3 separate regions of the Homo sapiens genome follow, and all the other regions are linked to region 3. The links are contacts of gene promoters, found by promoter capture Hi-C in human tissues and cell types (Jung and others, 2019). All regions are on one chromosome and are shown on one strand. The core of a region is centred on a gene start or on the middle of the fragment in contact, and the rest is flanking DNA. Distances in the headings are between cores, read along the strand shown.

What was found. The method cuts DNA at HindIII sites, captures the fragments that hold promoters and counts their contacts. A contact is called where the count stands out against the background at its distance.
Region 1: a fragment that was not itself captured here is called in contact with the fragment with the promoter of KLHL12 in region 3 in 2 of the 25 tissues and cell types used here (aorta and mesendoderm cells).
Region 2: a contact is called between a fragment that was not itself captured here and the fragment with the promoter of KLHL12 in region 3, in 2 of the 25 tissues and cell types used here (IMR-90 fibroblasts and aorta).

Annotation. Positions count from the first base shown.
Region 1 is chr1:202,705,590-202,710,433 of GRCh38, forward strand. SYT2 (synaptotagmin 2) reads right to left here. Exons shown (of 9, transcript NM_177402.5): 1 at 4,669-4,844. Among named protein-coding and RNA genes, the nearest start is that of SYT2, 2.4 kb to the right of the region's middle. The HindIII fragment of the contact is 4,055 bases long and covers 1-3,379 here.
Region 2 is chr1:202,743,596-202,748,159 of GRCh38, forward strand. It overlaps KDM5B (lysine demethylase 5B), which reads right to left. Exons shown (of 27, transcript NM_006618.5): 15 at 2,547-2,728; 16 at 2,263-2,387. Among named protein-coding and RNA genes, the nearest start is that of SYT2, 35 kb to the left of the region's middle. The HindIII fragment of the contact is 4,315 bases long and covers 1-4,102 here.
Region 3 is chr1:202,925,942-202,930,639 of GRCh38, forward strand. KLHL12 (kelch like family member 12) reads right to left here and starts at 1,293. Exons shown (of 12, transcript NM_021633.4): 1 at 1,148-1,293. RefSeq lists enhancers at 1,436-1,485, 2,562-3,063, 3,064-3,563. The HindIII fragment of the contact is 17,641 bases long and covers 1-4,698 here.

The sequences.
Region 1 (4,844 bases), core at 102-2,601, 220 kb before region 3:
CTAAGTGTGAGGGGCTTTCAGAATCTAACCTCCTCCCTGGCACTCAGCCAGCAGGGACTTTATCCTCATCAGAAAATGATCCAGGGAGGAAGCTTCTACAATATCTACTGCTCATCTTGGATTTTGGGAGTCCTTTTTTTTTTTTTGAGACCGGATCTCACTGTTTTCCAGGCTGAAGTGAAGTGGCATGACCATAGCTCACTGCAGTCTCGACCTCCTGGGCTCAGGCGATCCTCCTGCTTAACCTGGTGTGCCACCATGCCCAGCTAATTTTTAAATTTTTTGTAGAGACAGGGTCTCCATATGTTGCCCAGCCTGCTCTGGAATTCCTGGGCTCAAGCGATCCTTCTACCTCAGCCTCCCAAAGCGCTGGGATTACAGGTGTGAGCCACTGCACCTGGCCTGGGGAGTCCTTCTGGATGTTTAATTTTAGACCCAGCCTCTCTAGGGGAGGGGGCTGGCAGCTAGGTGTTCCCCTGCCCTCCAGGCTCACAGTGACTCTCAGGTCCCTCTGGGCCTGGATCCAAATTTACCCATCACTCTGGCTACTTCCTTGAACTGTCAGTTCCAGAGATGAAAATGAAGGATTGCTGGGACAAATCCTTCCCAGAAATCAAGCTTTGGCAAGAAAAGACTCATTAGGCATAAAAACCGTCTTCGAGTGAGGGGGATGAAATGCAGGACTGACCACCAAGACGGTGAGGGCAACTCCTTCCCTTGAGTTTTAAGAATATCAAAGGTGGACAGTGCTCCCTGCAGCTGGAGAACCCAAGACAGTGTTGTGTGTGTGGGCAGGAAAAGGAGCACGCAGGCCACCCAAGGATGAAAAGCACTTACTCCTCCCGCGCCAGGCACTGTTCTACACGCTTTACAGGAATTAACCCATTTCATCCTCACCAAGAACAATCTACGTCATAGTTACAAATTTTAGCTCCATTCTACAGATGGCAAGACTAAAAAACAGAGTGTGATTGACTCGCCCAAAATCACAGCAAGTGGCAGAACCAGGATGAACCCTGGCAATCTGGCTGTAGTCACTATACTGCCACTTAGAAAAAAATCTCTGACTTGATGTTTCTCCAATGAAACTATATTATTTATCACAGGCTTCTGGAGTCCAGGAGAAGCCATAACTGAATCCCAGCTTCTCTGGCCTGGCTTCTCTGACTGAGTGGAAGATGAAGAATCAACTTGTTGCCTATGGATGGATTATTCACGTAGGGAATTTAGAACTGCATCTGTCTGGTGGTCCAGGGGCTACTTCTAAAATAACACGAATAGTTATCAGTTCTACAATACTACCCTGAGAGTTAAGCATTATTACCTCTGTTCTTTAGAGAAAACTGTGCAGACATTGTCAGATCATCCTGTTACATGCTCTCGAAGCTTCCTACATACCTTCATAACTCTTGGCACAGTCATGATGAATTCTTTATGTAATTATCTAATTGTGTGGTATTCACTAGATTGTAAATGCCACGAGGGCAGGAAACAGGTCTGTTTTGTTCCCACCTGAATCTCCATTGCCTAGCACAGATTCTCAAAATGCAATAGTGGAACGAATGCAGAAGGGATGCTGAGTGGCTCAGTAACATGTGTAGGGCCTGCGGCTGTGCTCACCTCCCCACCCAGAGAGACTACAATAGTGGCACATGGTAGGTACTCACTAATAAAATACTTGTTGCAAATGTCAGACTTTGTACTTAGCAGCCCTGGGATTTGAACCCAGGCCTGTCTATCTCCTAGCCTCCATTCTTTGGTGCTTCATATTTAACCACTGCACTGAGTGACCCTGCCCCCCCATTACTCCCTCTGACTTGCTGTTCCAGTTCTTAAAGAGTATCCCCACCACCCTGGACCTTCAGTGGTGGGGATACTCTGGCTTCAGCTAGGACCTGCCTAGACTGGGGAAGTCCACAGAGCAAATCCCAAAGCCAAGTGAAGTAGTGTTTCTACTCATCTGCAGCCTTAAGTCCTCCACGAGGATGCTTCTGTCCAGGGAAGGGAATGATGGTCATTCTTCCAGGCAAATGAAGCCCAACCTCCTCCCACTCTGTCCTCACTGCCTTCTGTCCCCCTGCTTCCAGTGCACTCACTGCCCCTCTATCTACTCTCCCCTGAGAGGGCGGCACAGGCCTGGCGGGGAAGAAAAAGGAGACCCCATTGAGATATGATAATGTTCAGATGGAGGCAGAAAGAATGACTAGAGGTCAGGCTTGCCTAGGGGCTGGGGAACACTGGGGTAGCCTGGTCCCCAGGGCTTGAGAAGGGCAAGGAAGAGGCTTCTCCAGCCACCTCCAAAGCCCACCCCCAGGTCTCTGCAGTATCATAGACAGCCCTGTCACACCTGCCTGGAAGCTGCCTAAGGGTAGAAGGAATAAAACGAGCTCCAGCTGCAATGTGAGGGCAGGTGAGCCCAGACCCAGCTCCAGAAAGGGTCTCCTCGGCCCTGCGAGGTCTTCAGCAAGGTACATGCTTTGCCCAGGTGAAACCAGCTTCAGTCCTAAATTGAAGCCAGTTGCAAGCTTCTCTAGGTGAAAAGTCAATGTTTACGAACACCAACACTTTTTGCTTCCCCTGGTCCTGTTCTGCGGATGTCAGACCCCAAAGCTGAAAAAGAAATGTTCCTGCATAATCACCCCCTTCCCCCAAAAGAAAACCCAAGTTCCCTGGACCAAGCTCCTGGACTGCAGAACAAAGCAGACTCCCAGCAGAGTGGTCTGGTCTCTCTTCCTCCAGGGAATGGTGGGCCAGGTCTATGTGAGGCTATAACCTAGAAACTTTCCTCTGCCTCCCTCTCCTCCTCCTTTGGCAAGACAAGGAGGGGAGAAGGTAAGGATTAAGCCCAAAAGATCTCCAGAAAAAGCCAAGCCTCTGGGGGGAGTCCTAGAGGGTGAAGCCAGGGATCTGCCTGGCAGCCAAGCAGAGCAGAGGCAGCCACCCTGAGGGAAAGGTGGTTCAGTCGGGGTTCAGTGGGCACTGGCCATTTTCCAGGGGCATGGGAGGAGATGGGTTGGAGTTGGACTCCCTAGGCTGCAGTGTGCCTGGCGTGGACCCCTGACGCTGACTCACCCCCAGGGCCCTGACACACGCTGCAGCTTGCAGTGCCTGCCAGACCACCACTCTCATTCCACAGGACCAGGATGCCAGGCACGTCCCACTGCATCAGAGCCACCCTGCCCCCTTCCACCTGCCACTCGGGCCCGCCTTTGGGGCACTGGGCATGGCTTTTTTCAGCACCTCTGCTGGTCACAGAGATGTTTCTAGCAGCCCCAAAGCTGGACTTAGTCTTAAGTAGGGAGAGATGGTTGAAAGGATTAAGGGCTTCCCTGCTTCTGTCACCCCCTCTAATGAAGTGCCAGGTTATGGGGATCCAGACAGATTGGATGGAGGACAATCTATTCCACCTGGGAGAGGCCCCGCAGGGCGGCAGCAGTAGGGGAGGGAGAAGGGCACCCTTTTGCTTTCCAGGTCAGACCCCAGTTCACCTTTCTGGCTTCCTGGGCGCCCCCAGATCCTAAGGACTTCCTCCTCCTTATAAGCTAACTCAACCTGTACTACCTGCCCACGGGGCCTCTGCCCTTCCCTCCCCACTGCAGTGGCCCCTCCTGGGCCAGCACCTCTTCTGTCCTTGCACTCCCTTCTCCTGCTGCGGGGAGAGCACCTACTCTGCCACCTCAGCCAGGGGTAAGGGAGGACACTGCCCTGCCAGGAGACACCCCACGAGCCATGGGCTGGGGGTGTCCTGGAGGCACCTGTGGAATGTGGGGATGAAAAGGGAGGAGACAGGATGAGGGGGCCTGGCTTAGTGGGATGTGAAACGATAAAGCTCCACTTTTTAGTTGAAAAATAAAAGCCCTGTGCCCCAGAGGTGGGGGAAGGAGCATAGGCAGGGGAAGGGGGCACCCCAAATGGGAAAGGTACATGGAAGAGTCCAGAAAAGGGAGTCGGGCTGTCAGCACCCGCCAGGCTGCGAGCCTAGCCCTTGGGGACAGAGCTGAAGCAGGGACGGGGCGTCCTAGGTCGTGCTGAGTCATGAGATTTGGAGAGAGGGGAGGGGCGCCTCCAGCCCCTTCTTGGGCCCCTGCCCCAGCTCCTCGTGCCCGTTGCTTCCAGATGGCCCCTGCAGTCTGTCTCCCCAACCTCTCCCTGACCCAGGGTCTCCGGCTCCCAGCGCCCAGACCCCACCCCCCGCCCCACTTCCCACGACGGCGGTGCCAGGGGTCCCCGAAGCTTGAGACTGGGGCAAAAGAACCTTCCTTGGAGACCGCTAGGGCTGGCGGGGGCTGGGCTAGACGCGAGTGGGTTCGTCCCAGGGAAAGGAGAGAGGGACGGGGGCGCAGAGCCGGCCGGTGCAGGGGACGCGTGGCCCGCCCCTCTCTGCAGCAACCCGCGGGAGGAAATCTGCCCCCAGCCCAGCCCCAGTCCCTCAGAGGAGCCGGCTCCTCGCCCCTCGGGTCCGACTCCCCGAGACGAACCTTCCATCCGGACGCTTCCAAACTCCCCCAAAGGACGGGGCAGACTCCCGGCCCCCTTGGCCTCAAACTTCCCCAACCCTACTCACCTCTCGGGACCCAGACCACCCCGTGGCCCCTCGACTCAGTAGCAGGAAAGGAGAAACTTTGGAGAGGGAGGTCCGTGCCCCCACCGGCGGGGGTATGGACTTACCGGAGAGCGACCCGAAGGAGGCGGGAGAGATCCGGGGTCTCCAATGTGAGGGGGCGTCGGACGGCAAGGACGCGTGGCTGGCGACGGTTTCGCAGGGGCGCCCGTTCCCCTGGGGGCGCGAAGTCCCCGCTCCACCGCTGCCCCAACTCGGCTCCGAAGTGCCTTTGCCGCAAGAC
Region 2 (4,564 bases), core at 695-3,194, 180 kb before region 3:
AAGCAAGTGAAAACACTCTGAAAGAGAAATGGACTGGTACAAAAACAGACACACAGACTAACAGAACAGAATAGAGAACCCAGAAATAAAAAGGCACACCTACAACTATCTGATCTTCAACTAATCTAACAAAAACAAGCAATGGAGAAAGGATTCCCTATTCAATAAATGGTGCTGGAATAACAGCTAGCCATATGCAGAAGATTAAAACTGGACCCCTTCCTTACACCATATACAAAAATTAACTCAAGAGGAATGAAAGACTTAAATGTAAAACCCAAAAATATAAAAACCCTGGATGACAACCTAGGCAATACCTGTCAGGACATAGGCACAGGCAAAGATTTCATGAAGATGCCAAAAGCAACTTCAACAAAAGCAAAAACTGACAAATGGGATCTAATTAAAGAGCTTCTGCACAGCAAAAGAAACTATCATCAGAGTGAATAGACAACCTACAGAATGGGAGAAAATACTTGCAAACTGTGCATCTGACAAAGGTCTAATATCCAGCATATATAAGGAACTTAAAACAAATTTACAAGAAAAAAACATTAAAAAGTAGGCAAAGGATATGAAAAGATACTTTTCAAAAGAAGACATACGTATGGCCAACAATCATATGAAAAAAAGCTCAACATCACTGATCATTAGAGAAATGCAAATCAAAACTACAATGAAAGGCCGGGCGCAGTGGCTCACGCCTGTAATCCCAGTACTTTGGGAGGCCGAGGCAGGCAGATCACAAGGTCAGGAGTTCAAGGCCAGCCTGACTAACATGGTGAAATCCTGTCTCTACTAAAAATACAAAAATTAGCTGGGCATGTTGGCACGTGCCTGTAGTCCCAGCTACACAGGAGGCTGAGGCAGGAGAATTGCTTGAACCCAGGAGGTGGAGGTTGCAGTGAGCCGAGATCGCACCACTGCACTCCAGTCTGGGTGACAGAGCAAGACTCCGTCTCAAAACAAAAACAAAAACAAACAAAAAAAACACCACAATGAGATATCACCTCATACCAGTCAGAATGGCTATTATTAAAAAGTCAAAAAGTAACATGCTGGCAAGGTTGTGGAGAAAAGGGAACGCATATACACTGTTGGTAGAAGTGTAAATTAGTTCAACGATTGTGGAAGACAGTGTGGTGATTCTTCAAAGATCTAAAGACTGAAATACCATTTGACCGAGCAATGCCATTACTGGGTATATACCCAAAGGAATATACATCATTCCATTTATAAAGACACATGCATGTGTATGTTCACTGCAACACTATTCACAATAGCAAAGACATAGAATCAACCTAAATACCCATCAATGATAGACTGGATAAAGAAAAATGTGGTACATATACACCATGGAATACTATGCAGCCATAAAAAAGAATGAGCTCGTGTCCTTTGCAGGAACATGGATGGAACTGGAGGCAATTAGTTAGCAAACTAACACTAGGAACAGGAAAGCAAATACTGCATATTCTCACTTATTAAGTGGGAGCTAAATGATGAAAACACATGGATGCATACAGGGGAGTAACACGTGAACACATACAGGGGAACAACACACAATGGAGCCTATTGGAGGGTGGAGGGCAGGAGGAGGGAGAGGCTCCAGAAAAATAACTAATGGGTACTAAGCTTAATACCTGGATGATGAAATAATCTGTACAACAAACGCCCATGACACAAGTTTATCTATGTAACAAGCTTGCACATATACCCCTGAGGTGAAAAGTAAAAAGCAAAAAACAAACTATATTTTCATAAGAAAAAAGAGAGAGAGAGATATAAAGGGTAGCAGTGACTTTCAAAGGTAATGACAAGTGCCAGGGACCTTAACTTTAATTAGAACTAAGAAGTGATAAACTACCATTTCAGAGACTCCTGATTTAGTGTCATGCTGCCTTTGTCACAAGATGCTTTGTTTTTGTTTTTGTTTTTTTAAAGATTTCAACATCTTTGTAAGAAATGTGAAATTTTTATTTCTGAGACAAAAATAAAGGTTTCCTAACAATATCGTTTTTGTTAAGTAAGTGATGTTGCACAACTCATATAACAAAATTTCACTGGGATGTAAGGGCAACTGCCTTATCCACTCTTGGTTTTAAAACCTTCTCTGCCGGTGCTCTGTAAACCGGGCTATGTAGAGGGGCTAACCAAGGATGAGGTCAGGCTGTTTCAAGAAATGTTTTGTTGACTTTAATTTGGCTACATCACAATAAGCCCCAATTTGCCAATCACCAAGTCACTTTCTGTATCACATACTTTTCTTCTTGTTGATCTTTGCCTCCAAAGCTTCATTCACATTCAAGGCCCATTCGTTGTAAGATTCTGCTCGAAGCTTCAATGCATTCATCATAGGGTAGAGATCATCCAGCGTGTACCTATACCTGGAAATAATACCACCACACTTAGCTTTGAGACGTGTAGCTTTGGAGAAAACTAGATGTTTTATACTTAACATTTCAGCCCTAGAACTGCGGTATCATTGAGCTTTTAGTAAGGATCAACTGTTTTCCATAGGAAAAAAAATCGTTCTTCCTACTTACCGCAATTTATATTTGTAAGGAGGACAGGAACACAATTCTTTTACATGATGCAGGCAAACAAGAAGGCCAGGTTTACAAGAACAGGAGATGGCAGACATGAAGCATGTAGTTTTGCATTTTACACACTGACGTTCATCATCTGGCAACAGCTCAAAATCCATTCTTTCCGAATCAATCACTCCCTAGAATAAAGTATACTTTAGAGAGACCTCCAAAGGATAATATAATCCACCAGCCCAAGACAAACATGCAGTAGTACTTGAGTCTGAAAAAAAAAAAAAAGCTTTACCAAAATAGGGATGCATGATTAAAAATGTGTGGCATACAAAGAAACAAATGACCTAGCAAATACAGGCAAGTTCATTTGTCTAGGGAGATCTCCTTTTTCAGACAAGGCAGGTCCTTATGTTTGGTCATTTTGATCTGAGTATGAACACCATAGGACTGTAAAACTACTGAGATTAGTTATCTGTTCTACTACAAATTAGCCTTGTCCACATTTTGGGTATAGATAAGAGGTATAGATAAGATTAAAAGAAAGGAATATGTTTCCTACTTCTGAGGAAATATGGAGAATCTATTAAAAGGACAAAAATAAAAGGAAAGAAGATGGGACGAGTGGAAAAGACTATCGTGCAGAAATTGAGTTTGGGAAGATGCTGAGTGGTCTCTCAGCCTTTTACAGGAAGTTATATGAAAGGATATCATTAACTGAATAGTTAGAAAATTTGTGCAATAGCAAAGACTAAAGTCATAATTAAACATTTCCTCCTAAAAGACTGTCAGGAAAAATAAGGTCTTGAACCAGTAAATTTCAACATAATCTGTACCACCTAACATCTAGAGAACCCTTCTTGGATACACCTTTTGTCATTTAAAGACCAAACTTCTATCACCTTTTCTCCCTATCTAAAACTGGATCCTAATCCAGCCTTGAGAATGCCAGTCGTTTATGAACTACTGGGCTTCTTTCTTTTATTCTGTTATCCTGTATTTTAACCTTTTAACTATTTCATATCTGCCAATTATATGGGCCAACAAAGATGAGGAAGGTAAGGAAAATGCTAATTAGATTTTGGTTTTATTCTTGAATTGGTCATTAAAAAGGACTTCATGGGATGGAGAAAGTTAACATTTTTGTTTAAAATAAGATTAAGGACCAACTCCATGGATTTTAATTGAGAATCAATCATGTAGTTCATACCTAATTTTAATTTGTAAATTCCATATATGGAAAAAGTCTCAGAGTTCTAAAAATGAGCTACCATTTTTGATGTAAGACTTTGGTAAGTTACTTAAACCCTCTGGGCACTATTTTCCCCCAACTGTAAAATATAAGAGGGTAAGGTAGGTAACCTGCTGTTAAAATGTAAATGGGCTGCAGAGAGCCAATATTCCAGGATTCTACCCAAAAAGGCACATATTTTTAAAAAAAAAAAAAAAAACAGTATTACTATTTGCAGATATTATTATTCTAAAAGAATCCATGAAAAAGCTACTGGGAATTAAGTGACTTTAGCAAGGTCTCAGGAGACAAGGTCAATATACAAGTCAATTGTCTCTCTAAATACTAGCAATAAACAATTAGAAATTCAGTTTTTAAAAGTACAATTTATAATAGTGCCAAAAAACATGCAATATAAAATTATACTATGTTCATGAATTGGAAGACTCAATATTATTAAGATATCAATTCTCCCCCAAACTATCCATAGTTTCATGCAGTCTCAATCAAAATTCCAACAGGAATTGATTTGGTAGAAATCAATAAGCTGATTCTAAAATGTACATTAAAAAAAGTAAAAGAGATAAAACAATTTTTTAAAAAAAACAAAGTTAGAAGACTCATACTACCTGATTTCAAGACTTCTTAGAAAGCTACAATAATCAAGACCATTTAGTATTAGCAATAGAATAGATGCATAGATCACCAGAACACAAGAGTCCAGAAATAGACCCATACTTATGTGGTGAATTGATTTTCAACAAAGGTGCCAAAGCAATTTAATGAAGAAAAG
Region 3 (4,698 bases), core at 43-2,542:
TAAAAATACAAAAAATAGCCAGGCGTGGTGATGCGCGCCTATAATCCTAGCTACCAAGAAGGCTGAGGCCCGAGAATCACTTGAACCCAGGAGGTGGAGGTTGCAGTGAGCCGAGATCACACCACTGCACTCCAGCCTGGGCAACAGAGCGAGACTCTGTCTCAAAAAAAAAAAAAAAAAAAGAAACTTCAATTGAGGACCCATTACCTACACTGAATAATGGAAACCACGCAAGTTATCGATGGACTTACACTTGCTTAAGATATTGAAGCTCTTCAACAAGAGGGTATTCCTACTCTACATCTGTGAATGTCCATTACTGTTAAAGAATCGATATTGGAATCCAAAACTTTCTGAAATGATCCGGGGGGAAGGAAATCAAACTGTGGTCTCCAAAAGTCCACAAGTCACAATTAATCTTTCAACAGGAAAAATGAGATCCTAAATTCTCATCTACTTCTGTTTGTAGTTGGCATTTTACTCTATAAGCACTATAGATAATTCCTCCAACAACTCTGCAAGACCCATTTTACAGAAAAGCGGGTGATTCATCAAAGCATATGTTTTTCAAAAAGACTTAAGTCAACTTAGTTGCAACTCTAGGGGTGTAAAAAGGTCTAGAACAAATGTCCATTTACTATGAAGACAGCCCGGGGGGTCTTTTATCGTTTCCGTGTCAAAATGACAGTACCCCGGTGCAGAGTGGTCTTCCTTCTAGGGGATTCCTGCCTCAACACTCCAAGTCTCAGCATATCCTTCATCCTCACCCTTCTGAAGTGACCTATTTTCTAGAACTTTCGTTAACATCTGAATGGAGGGATTCCACTTCGGGAGATTCGGGGCAGGGAATGGGTAGTAAACTCGGGAAAGACTAAATTCTAGAGAAGGAAACGAAGTCCTTCCTCCTAATACCACCAGGCATATGGCCGCCACCGCCAGGTGGAGGTATCGGAGAGGGGCAGTTCAGGGGGAGAGTTGAGAGGGTGACCGAGGCCAGATGCCCCACCCCACTGCCAGCCTTCCTCCTCTGTTGGGCATGTCTCCCATTCCGCCTTGCAGGGAGACCAAGGATGGGGGGTAGGGCCATAACCCGGAGTTGACGGACAGGAAGGGAAGGGCTGACTGCCATCACTTCCGCGCAACTCACCTCCGCTCCCGAACCCACACAGCCGCACCGGGCCCGTCCCCAGCCTGTGGGGATGGAGTGCGGCGCGGGGCTAGCAGGCGGCTCGGGAGGAGCCGAAGCGCCGCCCAGACCCGGAGGCTCTGGAGGCTCTGGAGCCGTCCGGGTCTGGCCCCTGCGGCCGCGCGACGTGATGACGCAATGCAGCTGGAGCACCGCCCTCCCCCCGCTCCAGAGTCTGCGTCACGTGAGGAGGTGGTGTCACGTGACCTGTCTGTACCCTAGCGCGGGGCTTCTGTACGCTGCTAGGAAGCCGAATTACAAAAAGGTCGGGTGGGCAGGGAATGGTGGCTCACGCCTATAATCCCGGCACTTTGGCAGGCCGAGGCGAGCGAATTACCTGAGCTCCGGAGTTCCAGACCCGCCTGGGGATCACGGCAAAACCCCGTTTCTACAAAAAAAAAAAAAAAAAAAAAATTAGCCCGCACCGCGCCTGTAGTCCCAGCTACTCGAGAGGCTGACAGGAGGATCACTTGAGCCAGGCAGCAGAGGTTGCAGTGAGCCAGGATCGCCACTGCACTCCAGCCTGGGCCACAGAATGAGACCCTGTAAAAAAAAAAAAAAAAAAAAAATGTCCAGGCGTGGTGGCTCACGCCTGTAATCCCGGCACTTTGGGAGGCCGAGGCGGGTGTATTACTTGAGGTCAGGAGTTCGAGACCAGCCTGGCCAACATGGTGAAACCCTATCTCTACTGAAAATACAAAAAAATTAGCCGGGCGTTGTGGCACGCGCCTGTAATCCCAACTACTCAGGAGGCTAATGCAGGAGAATCGCTAGAACCTGGGAGGCGGAGGTTGCTGAGCCGAGATCGCGCCATTGCACTCCGGGCTGGGCGACCGACTGAGACTCTGTCTCTTAAAAAAAAAAAAAAAAGGCCAGGCGAGGTGGCTCACGCCTGTAATCCCAGCACTTTGGGAGGCCGAGACGGGTGGATCACGAGGTCAGGAGATCGATTCTGGCTAACACGGTGAAACCCCGTCTCCACTAAAAATACAAAAAAATTGGCTGGGCGTAGTGGCGGGCGCCAGTAGTCCCAGCTACTCGGGAAGCTGAGGCAGGAGAATGGCGTGAACCCGGGAGGCGGAGGTTGCAGTGAGCTGAGATCGCGCCACTGTACTCCAGCCTGGGCGACAGAGCAAGACTCCGTCTCAAAAAAAAAAAAAAGAAAAAAGAAAAAAAAGAAAAAACAAAAAAAAGGCTGGATGTTGTGGGGTCCGGCAGGGAGCCTGGGAATGTATCTACAGCTCGGCGATTGGCTGAGCCTGAGTTCCTCCCTACCGCTCACTAGGCAGGGCAGGCAGAGAGAATTCCAACGCTTAATATGCCAAGCATCTGATTGCAGCAAGTATGTTTTACCTTCCAGGTACTGAGGAACTTTTTGACATCGAGAAAACCCACAGAGGCCTCAAATTTATTCACGTCCATTGTCCACAATGGCCTTTTCGGGCCGAACAACGCTGCGGCGAGAATCCTCTGAGCCTTAGGATCCACAGACCTCAGTATATACTCTGCATCATAATGGGCCCTGTCATCACCACTGAATTGATTCTAAGGAAATTCTAATTGATTCAGGAAATTCTAATTTATTTTGGTGCACTTAGTGACTGAAAAGGCAAAAAGCTTAATTAGTTCAGCTTATCTGAATGTCTAGACAAATTGTGTTTGGTAATACTATTATGCTCTGTGAGCCCTTTGATTCTTTTTTTTTTTTTTTTTTTTTTTTGAGACGGACTCTTGCTCTGTCGCCGAGGCTCGAGTGCACTGGCGCGATCTCAGCTCACTGCAACCTCCGCCTCCCGGGTTCAAGCAATTCTCCTGCCTCAGCCTCTCCGAGTAGCTGGGAGTACAGGTGCACACCACCACGCCCGACTAATTTTTGTGTTTTTAATAGAGACGGTGTTTCGCCATCTTGGCCGGGCTGGTCTCGAATTCCTGACCTCGTGATCCGCCCGCCTTGGCCTCCTAAAGTGCTGGGATTACAGGCGTCAGCCACAGCGCCTAGCCCTTTGATTCTTAAGGGTACTAAAACCATAGCCAAGTGGGTAGCATTCTAAATTTACAACGTGTCCCCATCTTCCATGTCATACCTTCCTGATCTAAAACTGTCCCTGACTCACACATTGTAGAGAAGAATGCAAGATTGGTATATTATTGGGGGCATTTTGGAAATATTCGTCGATTTTAATAAAATTTTCCTTCACATATACTCGTGCACATGTAAAACGATGTATGTACAAGATTGTTAACTGCAGCATTGTTTGTAGATTAGATCAACAACAACATTAAATGTCCATTAATAGGGGACTGATTCAATAAGGTATAGTACATCCATAAAATCCAATACCATGAAGCTGTGAACAATTTATATACTCTATTATTGGTGTAAAAAGGTGGAAGATATATTCATATTTGCTTGTGTATGTGTAACATGTATTTGAAAAGACAAAGTGGTAACCTTGGTTTCTTTGGGGAAAGGAACTGTTTGGTTGTGAGACAGGGTGGGAAGGAGATTTTTGCTCTTTGTAATTTATTTTGCCTTTTGAATTTTGCTTCATATGAATTAAAAATAATGTTCAGAGCCTGGTGCGGTGGTGTACACCTACCTGTTGTCCTATCTGCTTTGGAGACTGAAGCAGGAAGATTGCTTGAGCCCCGAAGTTCGTGACCAGCCTGGGCAACGTAGCAAGAGCACGCCTCAAAATATATTTATATGTTCAATTTTTTAAAAAGTAAAAATAGGCTGGGCACAGTGGCTCACGCCTGTAATCCTAACACTTCGAGAGGCCGAGGCGGGCGGATCACCTGAGGTCAGGAGTTCCAGACTGGCCTGGCCAACGTGGCAAAACCCCGTCACTACTAAAAATAAAAAAATTAGCCAGTCATGGTGGCCTGCGCCTGAAATCCCAGCTACTCAGGAGGCTGAGGCCGGAGAATCGCTTGAACCCAGGGAGCAGAGGTTGCAGTGAGCTGAGATCACGCCACTGCACTCCAGCCTGGGCAACAGAGCAAGGCTCCATCTCAAATAAATAAATAAATTAATTAAATTAAATAAAAAGTAAAAATAATTCCTTGTTTTCAGGATGTAAAATAGTACTTTAATGATATTGCCTAATTCCTGACTGTTAAATTAAGGATTTTTCCAAATATGAGAAGGAACTTAATAATAAAAGAGGCTTTGTTTAGAGTATGCCTACTCCTTTTATTCACAAAATAAAAGATGGAGAAGTTGTTAGCAAGATTATCACACCAAAGGAACTAGTTCAGACTTCTGACTTTTTTCTTCTTTTATTTCCTCTTTTTTGTTAATATTTGTCGGTACATAGTAGGTGTATATATTTAGGGGGTACAGAGGGATTTTGATACAGGCATATAATGTGTACTAATCACATCACAGAAAGTTGGGTATCCATCCCCTCAAGCGTTTATCCTTTGTGTTAAAACAATCCAAGTATACTTTTAGTTATTTTAAAATGTACAATTCAATTATTATTGACTATACTTACCCTGTTCTATCA